Regions from separate parts of the Homo sapiens genome. Here all the other regions are linked to region 1. The links are contacts of gene promoters, found by promoter capture Hi-C in blood cells and fetal thymus (Javierre and others, 2016). All regions are on one chromosome and are shown on one strand. The core of a region is centred on a gene start or on the middle of the fragment in contact, and the rest is flanking DNA. Distances in the headings are between cores, read along the strand shown.

Region 1 (4,453 bases), core at 1,471-3,970:
CAGCCACACTGCAGCAGAAGCTCAGCTTGGAAGACAGAGGCTGCAGAAAGTCGGTCCCTCTAGGATGCCACCAGGGAAAAGTCTTCAAAATGTTGTTGTTACTGTGACCAAGGGCAGAAGTCTAGGCATCTTAATTATTGGTATTTGCACTAAGTGCAAGACGAGACCAAGTTGAGCCACTCCTGCCCTCGGCTCGGAGTCAGTGCACTCTTGCTCCACCCTCTCAGCTCCAGACCGTGTGCCCTGCCCAGGACGGCGCACTCAGAGACCATCTGGGTGGGGGTGGAACAAGAGCAGCACCGTCACTTGCATAAGCATTGCTAGTTTTGCCCCTCTAGAATTAATATATTCATTTTAAGTAAAAGAAAACTTATCTCCAAATTCAAAGAAGTTATTCAATGGGTAGGTTTTTTTCTGTTTTTGCAACTCATCTGGCAGCTGACCTAGCTCCCAATGAATTAAATGCTTCACATCTAACTAAATGTGTGCCTAGAATTAGAGAGAGAGAGAGAGAGAGACAGTGTGTGTGTGTTATTAGAGCAAAGACCTCCACAAGAAAAATACAAAATCTGTTTTAAAAATGTAAGGCTTCAATTTAAAATACAATTAAGACTTGATACATTTAAAGTCTATCAAGATAAACATTAAACCAGTTATTGGCTTTTACAAAGTCAGTCAAAAATTGAGGTAATACATTACTCTTTTATAACCAGCCTTATCTGATTATAACATTTTATTTCCTTCTCATCCTTCTAGTTAGATATTCTCAGATACATGGAAGAAATATGTAGAAATCAGCCTCCAGTTAGCGGGGGAAAGGATATGGTTACGAAACAGCGGAGGAGCTTTACTCTCTATTCAAATAATACACAGAAAAAATGTAATCAGCCGAGCGGTTTCCATGGAAGCGCTCATTGACCAGGGCTCACCAGCGCCTGGCGATGCCTACCCTTCCGCTTTGGAGACTGGAAATTCGGTTAACTGAGTTTCAGGGATGTCTAATACCCTCAACATTTTTCTGACTTGGGAGAAAACAAAATCACGAATGTAGGACCGGGTCCCAGCTCTGCAGGAGGCCACCGTCGCGGCCACCCACCTGGGCCATCGCCCACCGCACTGTCCAGGGTGCCCGGCGCCGGCTGAGGGTGACACCACGGGGCGTGCAGATGTAGCCCTGGGGAAGGCCCGCCTCCAGGCAGAGGGTCTCTGGGACCTAGACGAACCCTGGGGGTCGGGGCACCAAGAGGCATTTTCTCAGTTGCTTAATTCCCCACGAACTGCATGGATGCTCGGCGATGCCAAGAGGAGGCCAGAGTGGGGGCAGAGGCAGGCATCTGGGGTAGATACCACCGGTGTGAACGAGAAAGGCCCGGGCTGCCGGCTGGCGAGGGCAGGAGGGGGGCCGTGGCCGTCGGGCGAGTCTGGCTGCGCCCCACGTGGGCCAGCTTGCGCACTGGTGTCCCGAAAGTGGGCGCTGGCGGCCAGAGGAGCCTGCGGTCTCCCCCGAGGGCCCCTAGGCGGAGTGGCGCGTGCAGGAAGTGAGGTGGGATCAGGCCTGGCCTGTCCCCGCAGGCCCGCTGGGCTCACAGCGTGCTCAGGTGCCGCCGTGAGTCCAGGGCCCCCGCCCGGCCCCGCGCGGCAGCCGCGGACTCCACGCCGCGCAGCCACTCCGTGCACTTGCGTACCAGGCCCTCGTCCACCGCCTCTGGCTCCTCCTCGTACTCCACGTCGTCGTACCTGTGCCGCTCGTTGAGCAGCGACACCTTGAGCATCGGCCGCAGGGCCCCGGGCCGCGGGCTGAGCTGGGGAACCTGCAGGCCGCCGTGCAGCAGCTGGGCGCCGGGCGGAGGCGCGCGGCGGCCCTGGCCGGCGGTGGGGGGTGCGTCGGGGTCGCTGGCGGGGCCGCCCCTCCGCGGGCCCGCGGCCCTAGCCGGGAGACACGGGGCGAGTAGGCGCCTGGGTTCGGCCGAGGGTGAGGGGAAGGGCCTGCGGGGCCGCGCCAGCAGCTGCTTCTCCAGATGACGCTTCTGGATGACCAGGACGGCCTCGGGGGTGAGATTCAGGCAGAAGCGCGCAGCGGAGTCTGGACAAGGCCCCGCCCCCGAGGAGGTGCCCGCGGCGGTGGTCCCCGTCCCCGCCGAGGTCGCCGCATAGGTGGTCCTCGCTGGGCTGTGGCCGGAGCCTGCCGGCCGGGGCGGGGCGCACGTGGCTGGGGCCCGCGCGCGGCTGGGCAAGGCCTGGGGGGAGACGCCCGGAGGGGCCGGCGGCTGCGTCCTGTCCAGGCCGGGGCCGCGCCGGGCCGGCGGCCTCTTGAGCGTGGCGGAGGGCCAGGAGCTGGAGAGGAGCCCCTCGGGCCGCTGTGGGGGCCTCTTCTTCTTGTCCCCCGCGGCGCAGGGCCTCCGGGGTAACTGGCGCGCGGCTTGGGCCCCCGGGGCGGGGGCGGGCGGCGGCGGCATGGGCGGGAAGGGCATAGTGCAGCCGAGCCGCCGGATCCTCAGCCCCTGGAAAGAGAGGCGGGCGCTCAGCCACTGTGCGCGGAGCGGGTCCCCGCAGTCCGGGCGGCCCCTCCACACCCACCTGCGTCCAGCCGCGGCCTCTCCGGCTTCCTCACATCCCAGCGACCAAACCCGGGGACTCAAAGAGAGGCGCTCCCACCCTCCCCTCCTCCTGGGGGTGCTCCCGGGACTGGACCCTGCAGGAACCGCCTCCCGCCGTCCGACTGTGGGCGAGTCGCGGCGCCCCCGGGTCCCCACAGCTGAGACGCGGGCCGGGCCGGCAGGAGGAGGAGCCCAGCGCGCTCGCTAAGGACGCGGCCCTGCCAGGCCCCGGGCTGTGCCCGGCTGGTGTCACGACCGACTGTTGAATGGGAGCAAAGTGCCAGGACAGCGGAGGGCGGAGCGCGCGCCAGGCATCCCGGGGCTCCCCCAGCTGGCGCTCCGGTGGTCCGAGGTTAATGTAGTCCGTCGAAAGCCAGGAGCATTCCCCTGGGGGAGCCGGCAGCCTTCCGGAGTCACAGGTGGAGGCCCTGCACGTTTCAGAGAAAATCCCCTGTAGCCTCTCCGTGCCTTCGAGACGGCGGGAAAGGCACCGCCAGTAGATGCAGCTCTGCGGCCCCGGACACATCCTGCTTCACAGAGAAAAGCGGGCTGGAGCTGAGAGGGGAGAAATGACCCTCAGTGAATCTTACATAGTGTTCATGCCACCCCTTGAGGAGTCACTTTCAAATTCAAAACCTAAGTATCTATGAACAGGCAAAATAGTTCAGTTTCAGCTATATAATGCTGATTACATGGCAAATATTAGACATCAAGTCCCTTTAATAATTCTTATGAGCAAAGCAATATATTTATCACTGTAGCAGAGATTCAGAATTAATGAGATAAATCTTCACTGTCAATTTACATTCTAGTCGTAGACACATGAAGACATCCTACAATATTCAAATGTTTGTTTAATAAATAATTGAACAATTGCAAAGTGACGGATCAAAAAGTCAACATTTCATGTGTGCAGTCCCTGCATTACTTAAGGATAATCATCAGCTGCTTAGATCTCCACAAAGTACTTTCCATCAGATACACTTTTCTGATGGAAACCAGGTGTGTGATGGTTACGGCCCCAGGTTAGCTCCAGAGCACATTCAACTGTGGGTAAACACAAATGTGCCCTGTGCCAACAGTCACAGCAGGACAGCATGGCCCTCCCCCAGCCGCCTCAGTCTCCGAGGCAGCAGCAACGCCTCCCCTTGTTGACTGTTGGTGGCCTCAGAGAACTGCGCTGTGGATACATGGGAGCGTCAAGGAAACCTGGCAGGTGGTGGGAAACACTTCTCACCAGAGCTTGGGTTGGGGTGACAGGTTTGGGCCCTGTCATCTCTACCAGCACCTCCCAAGCCACCCCAATACAGCTCTGAAACAAGCCTCCCAGCTCACAGGCACTTTCCCTCCATCCCTGCCAGCCTGTCTCTGCCGGTGGGCTCAGGCTGTTAATCGGCTTGACAGGTGAGGTCCTAAGATACTGAAACCTCCTCCTCAATATGTTTTATTCCAGGTTTTAGAATCTCTGGATGGGTGTGGGAAGAGGCACGTCAGTGGCGGCAGGAGGCCCACAGTTCTGTGCCTGGAAAGTGGAGAACTGGAAGAGAAGGTGAGGCAGGAGAGGATGGGGGTGGGGCGGGGGGCGGTATCAAATATCATTTATGGGGGCACAGCTGGAGAGGCAGGCTATGGAGAAAAATCAGCAAACACTTGGACACTCAGACATCTGAGTTTGGAGCCCCGCAGTTCAAAAGCTGTGACGGTGCTGGTGGGGTCTTCTCTCCTTCCTGTCTCCTTACTCTTAGGATGCTTCAGAAGGAATGACAGTTTTGGGGTGAGAATGGGTTGGTGGCCTCATAGTAATGCTCCCGACTTCCACTGCTGTCTCCATTCTGCTGGGACACTGGTCGTACAGA
Region 2 (4,465 bases), core at 823-3,322, 130 kb after region 1:
ACGCTGCAGCCGCAAGTGCCGCCGGTGAGTATTCTTGGGGAAAACGGGCAAAGGGTTAAATCATCCAGAAAGGCAGCTTCCCAGTGTGTGTTTCGAGGAGATACAAATGCCCAACCAATTCCACTGAGGAGCTTCTTTGATTAGAGAATGCCTGTGCAGAGACACAGGCTGGACAGAGCATCTATTCTGGCAGGCGATACAGTCATTTTCCCGTCTTCGAGTCTCTCTCTTCTGGTGGAAGAGAAATTTATGCCACCGTTTTCCTCAGTCATGCAATCTGTTACCAAAGCTGCCCCGTCTCCTTCCTTGTCCATCTAAATGTTGCTTTCTTTCTTTTCTATTTTCTATTTTATTTAACTGCTCCTAGTCCCGGCCTCTGTGCCTGTGAACGCTCCTTTCTCTGTTTCCACTGTGGCTGTGAAGGCATCTACAGCCTCTGCCTGTCTCTGCACCACTGCTGTTCTTGAGATGGTTCATGTTGCTCCTTCACATAGCTCAACTCTCAACTGCTGTTTCTCTTTGCTTCAAATTTTCACATGATTTCTATGAAAAATGCATTTTGATCCCTAAAGACAGGACTGGCCTGGACCTCTCTCTTCCCAGGTTTGGCCACAGTGGTTTGACTCAGCTGCACAGCCACCTCTGTTCCCCAAGACGGGTGCAGCTAACACCCCACGTGATACTGGGAAGCCCCATGGTGAAACCATCCACTGCTTTCTCAATGGCTTAGAATTCTTTGCAGGACCTGGCACTGGATCCTCTGGAGTGAACTTGAACACAAGCTCCCCTGAGTCCTCTCCTTCTCCGGCCCCGTGCGGCTCACTGCAGCGCCCAGCGTTAGGCCATGGGCTCTTTCAAGATGTAGCTTCTGCAACAAGCCCAGGTGCTGCCCTGAGGACGAGCAGGCTGTGATCCACAGGAGCCGGGGCTAGTGCTGCCAGTGACCTCGGAGCACAGACTGAAAACAGAGGTCTACATGAACGCAGACCATCCTGAATGCTGTGGGGAAGGAAGCTGGAGCAGCTGCCGGGGGCCGGGGGCCGGGACCCTGGCTAGGGGCCTCGCAGCTGAGTGCTGGAGGAACCAGGTGCACTGTGCCTTTGGAGGTGAAGTTAGAGGAAGCGGTCCGGCTGCCGCTCAGCACTTACACAGCTGAACCATGGCCCACTTGGTGGCAGCAGGACCTTTCACTGGGGTACACCCAGACTCATAAGACCAGGAGACTCAGGTGCGATTTTACATAGAGCTCCACTTGCACCTGGCACACCTTCCCCTTACAGCCTAGGGACTTTGGCTATTTATCAAACAATGGATTTTTCTTGCAGGTCCCATGACTTGAGCTTTCCAGCTATTCTGAAGCCCAGCCTTACTGCCCAGCCCCATCTGCTCTGAATACTGCCTCATTCTTTCATGGTTTGGGTACTCTGAGATGCATAGAGCATCTGGCTGAAACAGAACACTGGGGCTCCCCGCCTTATGACGAGTGAGTCTGCTGGACAGGGGTCGAGAGTGTGCACTCGGGGTCTGACTGCTTGGACGGGAACCTGCTCTCTCACTGACCGGCTGCGACTTCTCGCATATGTGTTGAACCGTTCTGAGTTTCTGTTCCCTCATGGGGATAATGAAAATAATTACACCGTGGGATGCTGTGAGGATTAAATGACTTCACACATACAGAGCGCTTATAGCAGTGCTTGGCACGTACTGAGTATGAAGTATTTACTCTCGTCATCCTCGTAACTCTCGTCACCATATTCTATCTAACGCCTGCAGCTCCTGGTCTCAGGAACTTCAGTTCTCGGGCAGTTTCCTCTTCATATGTGTACTGACGTTGGTGTTTTGCAAAAGAGGGTCAAGGTGGCAAAATTGGCACTCGAATGATGTAATGTAGTTTTATGCCTATTATGACATCTATAATAAATAAAAACTTCAGTCATTAGTAGAGATGGCCAAGAGCTCTCTCAAGGTATGTGTATTAAGCTTATGAGAAGGGGAGATACTAGTGACACAAGCTAACATTTCTGTAGTGAATTAGCTATGATATGTGTAGACAGTTGACCCTTGAACAACATGGGGGTTAGAGGTACCGACCCCTCAAGAAGTTGAAAATGCACATATAACTTTTGACTTCGCCAAAACCTAACTAATGTCCCACTGTTGACTTAAAGCTTTACCAGTAACATAAACGGTCCATTAACACATATTTTGTATTTGTATAATTATATACTGTATTAAGAATAATTATACAATTATATACTGTATTAAGAATACAGTATATAATTCTGTAATAATACGATCTAGAGGAAAGAAAATGTTACTAAGCAAATCATAAGGAAGAGAAAATACATTTAGTGTATGGGACTGTATTTATGGATATAGTGAGTTTATGCCATCTGTTCACAAGATGGATCGTCTGTCTGAAAAGGGGGGCACTCACAGCTGCAGACCTCAACCTGGGGTACGTATCATGCAATTCAACTTTTGTTTTTTTTGGTCATGTGATGACTTTTCTCTGCCTCTTGGGAGCACTCACAGCGTCCCTAGTGGCACGGGACTTCTTAGTGGTTCTATGGTGTTATTCAAGGTTTATGGAACTGCACTAAACACGGTGAAAAATATGTGAGAACCACAAGATACCATTTTTTACTGCTATTCCCAATTCCCTGGAGAGACAGACTCCTCACATGGAGACGAGGAGTGTCACAGGACGTTTAAAGCGGATCCTTCCAACACCTGAGCTTACTACAGCAGCAATGGAAGGCTGCTGTGAAATTCTTACGGTAGTGCCATATTCGCCACAGTTAATTTGCTGCAGCTATGATTTAATGCTGAATCTATGTTTGTTTACATTTATCTCAACTGCAAATGGCGCCACGTATGGTCTATGCTTGAGCACATAAATTTTGATACATTTTAAGTTTGTATAATAAATCTGTGTATATTTTATAGTAGAAAATGATAAAATAGACTAGCATCTATGTATATTTTATGCATCCTGACATACCATTTTCTTAACTTTTTAAATATTTCTAGGCTATGTGGTTTGTCTGTGAGTTTCTTCAAATTGTAACAAATCTCTAAAAAATTTTCCAGTATATTTACTGAAAAAAATCTGCATACGTGGATCCTCACAATTCAACCCCGTGTTGTTCAAGGGCCAACTGTATATATTTACATATTCCCCCACCAATATAATGCCAGGAATCCTTCCATTTATACAAATCAGCACTATCTAGAATATGTACCTAATTATGTTAAGCAACAAAGTCCTAAGAATAAAATAAAAACAAATAATTCCCTCTCTCAATTCTTATAAAGTGAATACAGCATCTTTGATGGAATAGGAATATTATTTTTTCTTTCAAATACACCTCTCCCCTTCCTTTTAATCCTCCTGGATCACGATTACCTCCAACACTTAATAGTCACTTCTATTTTAATCTTATTTTAAATGAAGGGTGCCCTAATGTGCGGACAGCAATGCAGCCATCCGTCATGCTATTTTGAAGCCCTATACAACTTCATCGCCCACCACTAGTCTCCCTGGGTTGGTTATAAAAACAAAGGCGGACTTTAGTTTTCCATTAGATTACTTAGCTGTTTTGTCCCAATAAAATGGCTTGTAGTTATTAGAAAGTAGGGCACATCTGTTCACCTACAATGTGTCTGATAAAAGGAAGAGGAAGCGCTGAGGGAACATAATAGCTTTTCTCATTCAACCATCAGAGCACTGGCTGGGGGCACCGGCAGAATGCGCTGCATCAAGTCCAGCCTGAAACAGTGCCGTGCGCGTGAGAAGGAAGAGGGTCGGTGTCTTCCCGCCCGAGGCCGGACTGCCCCAGTGAAGGATCTTGGACGTTCTAGTGTTGTTTGCCGAAGTCGAGAGGGAGGGACAAGCCTGGGAATCCAGGTTGTCATTCAGCCCACGTGAATTGAGCCCCTGCTCTAAGCTGGGCACTGTGTTGGAGACTGCGATAGCTAGAATTGGTCTTAATTTTAGTCCTAATTTTAGGACCGATTCTAGCTGTCACTTCCCACAACCTTTGGCAGAGTACCCAGCATATAGCAGGGACTCAAGTTAAAAATGCAGCTGAAAATAAATGCAAAGTGAACAATCTTGTCGTTTGATTTACTCAGGTAAACTGGTTTCAGTAGAACCTTAAATGTAGTTTACGTTATTCAGGGTAATTATGGTGGCAAAATTAGAAACCTGCAAAAATGCAGAAATAACTTAAAGCAAAATATAATGATATTCTAAGAATGTGAGAAGTACTATGATTCCATACTCACTATGAACCTCCATACCTGACCGTCATAGAGGTGAAGAGCTGGCCCCACTCTCCTCTTAGAAGGACCTGCACTTTAAGTCACGGCCCAGTCACAGTGGGGTGGGGGTGGGGGGCTGCCCGCAGCACGTGGGGAACACTGAGCTGTTGGTCGGTCATCATCCTGTTGCTAAAGGACT
Region 3 (4,073 bases), core at 683-3,182, 150 kb before region 1:
GTAAGACCCTGTCTCAAAAAAAAAAAAAAAAAAAAAAAGTCTTTCTAGAAAGCATAATTCCTATATATCACTACTATCTCTTCTCAGAGGAAAATACATATAATAAGAGGATCAGAGGCTAGGATCAGTGGCTCACACCTATAATCCCAAGCACTTTGGAAGTCCAAGGTGGTAGGATAACTTGAGCGTAGGAGTTCGAGACCAGCCTGAGCAACATGGTGAGGCCCCATGTCTACAAAAAAATAAAAAAAAAAAATTAACCGGATATGGTGGTGTGCACCCATAGTCCCAGCTACTTGGAAAGCTGAGGTGGGAGGATTGCTTGAACCCAGGAGCTCTCGGATGCAGTGAGCTATGATCAGGCCACTGCACTCCAGCCTTGGGAACAGAGCGAGACCCGGTCACAAAAACAATACAAAAATAAAAAATAGGATCAGGTCACAGATATTAAAACAGTTGCAGGTTTAAAGATCACTCCCACCTTACATATTGGTCAATTCCACTGAAACCCCAAAGACAGGGTGCTCAGATTGTAGAATTCCATGTTCAAGAGTGAACTAAATATTTTTTGGTCAGCACTCACCTGAATGTTAGGATAATTCAGAGGAATTTCCCAACAGACATGAGAAATGTGCCTTCCAAATTGCGGCAGGTGGCCTGAGAGCTTGACATGAGTTTCTCATGTGCAGCAGCGTCTTGTTATTTGTTATAAGGGCTTCATAAACAGAGCTGGGTTTACAAGGAGTCTTATGGGCTCAGAATCTTAACTGCGATGTCTAACTCTCTAAGATTATATCTTTTTTTTTTTTCTTTTTTTTGAGACGGAGTTTTTGCTCTTGTTGCCCAGGCTGGAGTGCAATGGCGCGTTCTTGGCTCACCACAACCTCCGCCTCCCAGGTTCAAGCGATTCTCCTGCCTCAGCCTCCCAAGTAGCTGGGGTTACAGGCATGCGCCACCACACCCAGCTAAGTTTGCATTTTTAGTACAGACAGTTTTCTCCATGTTGGTCAGACTGGTCTCAAACTCCCAACCTCAGGTGATCTGCCTGCCTTGGCCTCCCAAAGTGCTAGGATTACAGGCATGAGCCACCGCGCTGGGCAATTATTTCTTTTATTTCTTATAACCACCCTGATGGTTAAGCATTTTCTTCCTCCATTTTTACAGTTCAGAAAATTGAAGTTTGGGAGTAGATAACTTTCCTAGGGTCTCACAGCAAGTCAGCCAAATGAACACCAAAATCCAGGCCTTTTATACCAAATTCCAGGCTCTTTCCAGTATACAGCTGCCACTGCCCACATTGCATAACCAGAAAGACCATGTTTGAATTATTAAAATGTTAATTCCTAGAATTTGAACTCTGGGACACCTTTAGAAACTCAAACTCTCAAGTCGTCATCTATCTTCCACATGTGAAAATGGTCTTCCCCCCAACCTCAGAGCTTAAGGTCCCAGGGGAGGGGCATGTGACTCAGTCTCCCCACAGCCCCCACAGTGGGGCCACGTTCCCCAGTTGTACGCTTCAGCTGCCCAAGCTCAGTCGACAACGTTTTCCTCTTATTCCCACACTATTAGTGTTACTGATGCCCGCAAAGGGGCCAGCACTGGAACAGACCCTGAAAATACAAAACCCAGGCAGTCAGGGTTGTGGAGATGGACAAGGGTTCAGTGAGGTGGTGGACTGTGCAGAGGGGATCACCGGACACTGGGATCACAGGGTGGCACTGCCTGCCCTTAACCCCTTCCCAAATGTCCCCCAGACCTCCTCCAGCAGAACCAGCACCTATGCAATTAGAAGCCACAGTCCAGATGTCTGGAACTAGTTCTACTTCCCAACACTACCTGGACAGTGGGTTTAATCAATGTATTCTCCCAAAATACTTCAATCAATCTCCTGATTTGGGGGTATTGCCAAATGAGTAGTCGTAAAACCAAGAAAAACTTTTAAATGATAATTTACGATAAGCATGTCCTGCTTGGAAAGCAGGCACAAATGATGCTAAAAAGCTAGCTATTTACACGTCATCTCTGGATTTATACTCAATAAAGCAAAAACAAACAAACTAAACACCACTTTGTCCTAGAACTGGTAAGTGGAGTCCAAAGAAGTCAGAGTTGGACAAGTGGTAAAGTTAGCAACGCTGACTTGGAAAAAACAACTTTTGCTACGCCTGTGGGCGATATCATACCCCTGAGCCTTAATGTCCATGTTGCTAGTATATTCATAATGCCGCTTTGACACTCCTGCATTACTAACCCAGCTCTAACCTACTGGCCACCTGTAACTTCGAATACTAAGGAATACTAAGGTGTACTTGGAATACTAAGGAATACAAGGTTTGGAATACTAAGCTGGAAGTAGGGTCAACATTAAGGATTCTGCCACTAGATGGAGAAATTGTCCCAATCCAGCGCCATTGCAGTTGTGTTTTGCTTTTGAGAAAAAGCAGCGGGAAAGATATTTATAAATGCCATTTTGTTCAAAGTGCTACGGTAACCACACTTTTCATTGACAAATGATAACTTTTTATCCATTTATTTTATGTACAGTACTTTAGCTTGAATAGGGTGGACAGCCCATATTCATCTTGATGACATCAGTATGTTCTAGGTTCTGTCTTTATCCACATCATCCATGATTCAATGTTGAGTAAATCTCTTAAAAATTACTTAACATCTTTTAAGTTGCTGTGGCAATTAGCACTAAGTCTATGCAAATTTCACTTCCAGTTTTGCAACTAATTAGATACAATATTAAAGTTCTTAATAGATTAAAATGCTTTTTGGGGATAAGGTCTTTACCACCAGCTACAATAAACAGTAAATACTCACAAAAGGAGGGGCTTCACTAATAACTGGACGAATCACATTTTGCATATTGCGTTTATTTTGCAGAAAATGCTTTCTGCTGATTGTCTTTGGCTACTTTGTCAAAAGAAAAATATGAAACAGTTATAGTTTAACAACACAAGAGATTAGCTACATATGCTTAAAATACACACATTCTAGGGGGCAGAGCAGTCAAATTTTCAATTCAACTAAAACCTGCTGTCCTCAACTATGATTTTATTCTGTCCTTAACAGCTCAACTCTAACTACTTGAAAGCAACAAGGAAGAAGATTAAGAGTGTGCTTTTTATCTCACTAAAGTAGGACTGGTGGAGTTTACAAATTCTGGTGTGCCAAAGTTGCCAATACACTGTATGAGAAATAAACCAAAAAAAGTTTCTGGACCCTGGCAAACATTTTTTCACCGTCAGTGAGGTTGGGCCAACTGCATCATCTCCACAGTTGGGTTCATCTGTAAGCCACCTGGGACAGCACCGCTACTGCAGGTGTGAGCAAGGGATGCTGGGGCTCTGGGGAAAGGTGCCGTGTGCTCCTCCACTGCTTTGAAAAGGAAGTTACTGAGGCTGCATTTCCTTCTTAACCTGAGACTGCCACTGGGTACCTAGTAGGTCAATCCAGTCACCACTGGCTGCCACGACAAAAAGTCACTGCATCTTTCGGGACCTGGGCCTTGCTGCTTCACATGGAAGGTGGCGACACAGGTGTCCATGAGGCTATGAGGCGGCCTTGGGCTGCGGCGTCGTACTGGCTGTCCACGATGTCTGTGGCCGCGGCCGCCCCTTCGTACAGTGGGGATCCCGAGGAAGAGGGCGCCGAGACCGGATGGGTGAGGGGTGTGTAGTGCGCGGGGGAGCCCCGGAAGAACTGGGCCCCCAGCCCGTTGGACACGGCTGCTGCCTGGGAGCCCGGGGTGACGGCGCCGTTGCTCACAGACCACAGGCTGGGGTACTGACTGCAACAGAAAGACACCAGTGAGCAGGGCCTGGGCAGGGGCTGCAGGCCAGCTAAGGATGGAAAAACACACCAGAAATCCCATTCGGAGTGACTGTGTAATATGACAGTTTTCTTCTTTCAAACAGGTCATTTTCTCCAAATTATTAAAGGACTCACAAGCACATTCTGTGATGTATAGAAGTTATTGTCGTATCTATTAATAAGAAACAAAATCATCAGGAAGATGACTGAAAAGATTATTCACATATTCAGAGCTCATGAAAGAGCGCTGT

Evidence for each region. The method cuts DNA at HindIII sites, captures the fragments that hold promoters and counts their contacts. A CHiCAGO score of 5 or more calls a contact.
Region 2: a contact is called between a fragment that was not itself captured here and the fragment with the promoter of PRR18 in region 1, in 1 of 17 cell types (total CD8 T cells). The highest score is 6.2, in total CD8 T cells.
Region 3: a fragment that was not itself captured here is called in contact with the fragment with the promoter of PRR18 in region 1 in 2 of 17 cell types (neutrophils and M0 macrophages); the score reaches 6.8 in neutrophils.

Annotation. Positions count from the first base shown.
Region 1 is chr6:166,305,672-166,310,124 of GRCh38, forward strand. It overlaps PRR18 (proline rich 18), which reads right to left and starts at 2,721. Exons shown (of 1, transcript NM_175922.4): 1 at 1-2,721. The coding sequence starts at 2,471. The coding sequence ends at 1,584. It overlaps LOC107986669 (a long non-coding RNA gene), which reads left to right and starts at 1,877. Exons shown (of 3, transcript XR_001744464.2): 1 at 1,877-2,052; 2 at 4,051-4,146. RefSeq lists a silencer at 2,204-2,803 and an enhancer at 2,874-3,153. The HindIII fragment of the contact is 8,012 bases long and covers 1-4,453 here.
Region 2 is chr6:166,440,842-166,445,306 of GRCh38, forward strand. The region is part of intron 14 of RPS6KA2 (ribosomal protein S6 kinase A2); the gene reads right to left. Among named protein-coding and RNA genes, the nearest start is that of RPS6KA2-IT1, 22 kb to the right of the region's middle. The HindIII fragment of the contact is 188 bases long and covers 1,979-2,166 here.
Region 3 is chr6:166,154,790-166,158,862 of GRCh38, forward strand. It overlaps TBXT (T-box transcription factor T), which reads right to left. Exons shown (of 8, transcript NM_001366285.2): 8 at 2,867-3,799. The coding sequence ends at 3,526. Among named protein-coding and RNA genes, the nearest start is that of TBXT, 11 kb to the right of the region's middle. The HindIII fragment of the contact is 6,113 bases long and covers 1-4,073 here.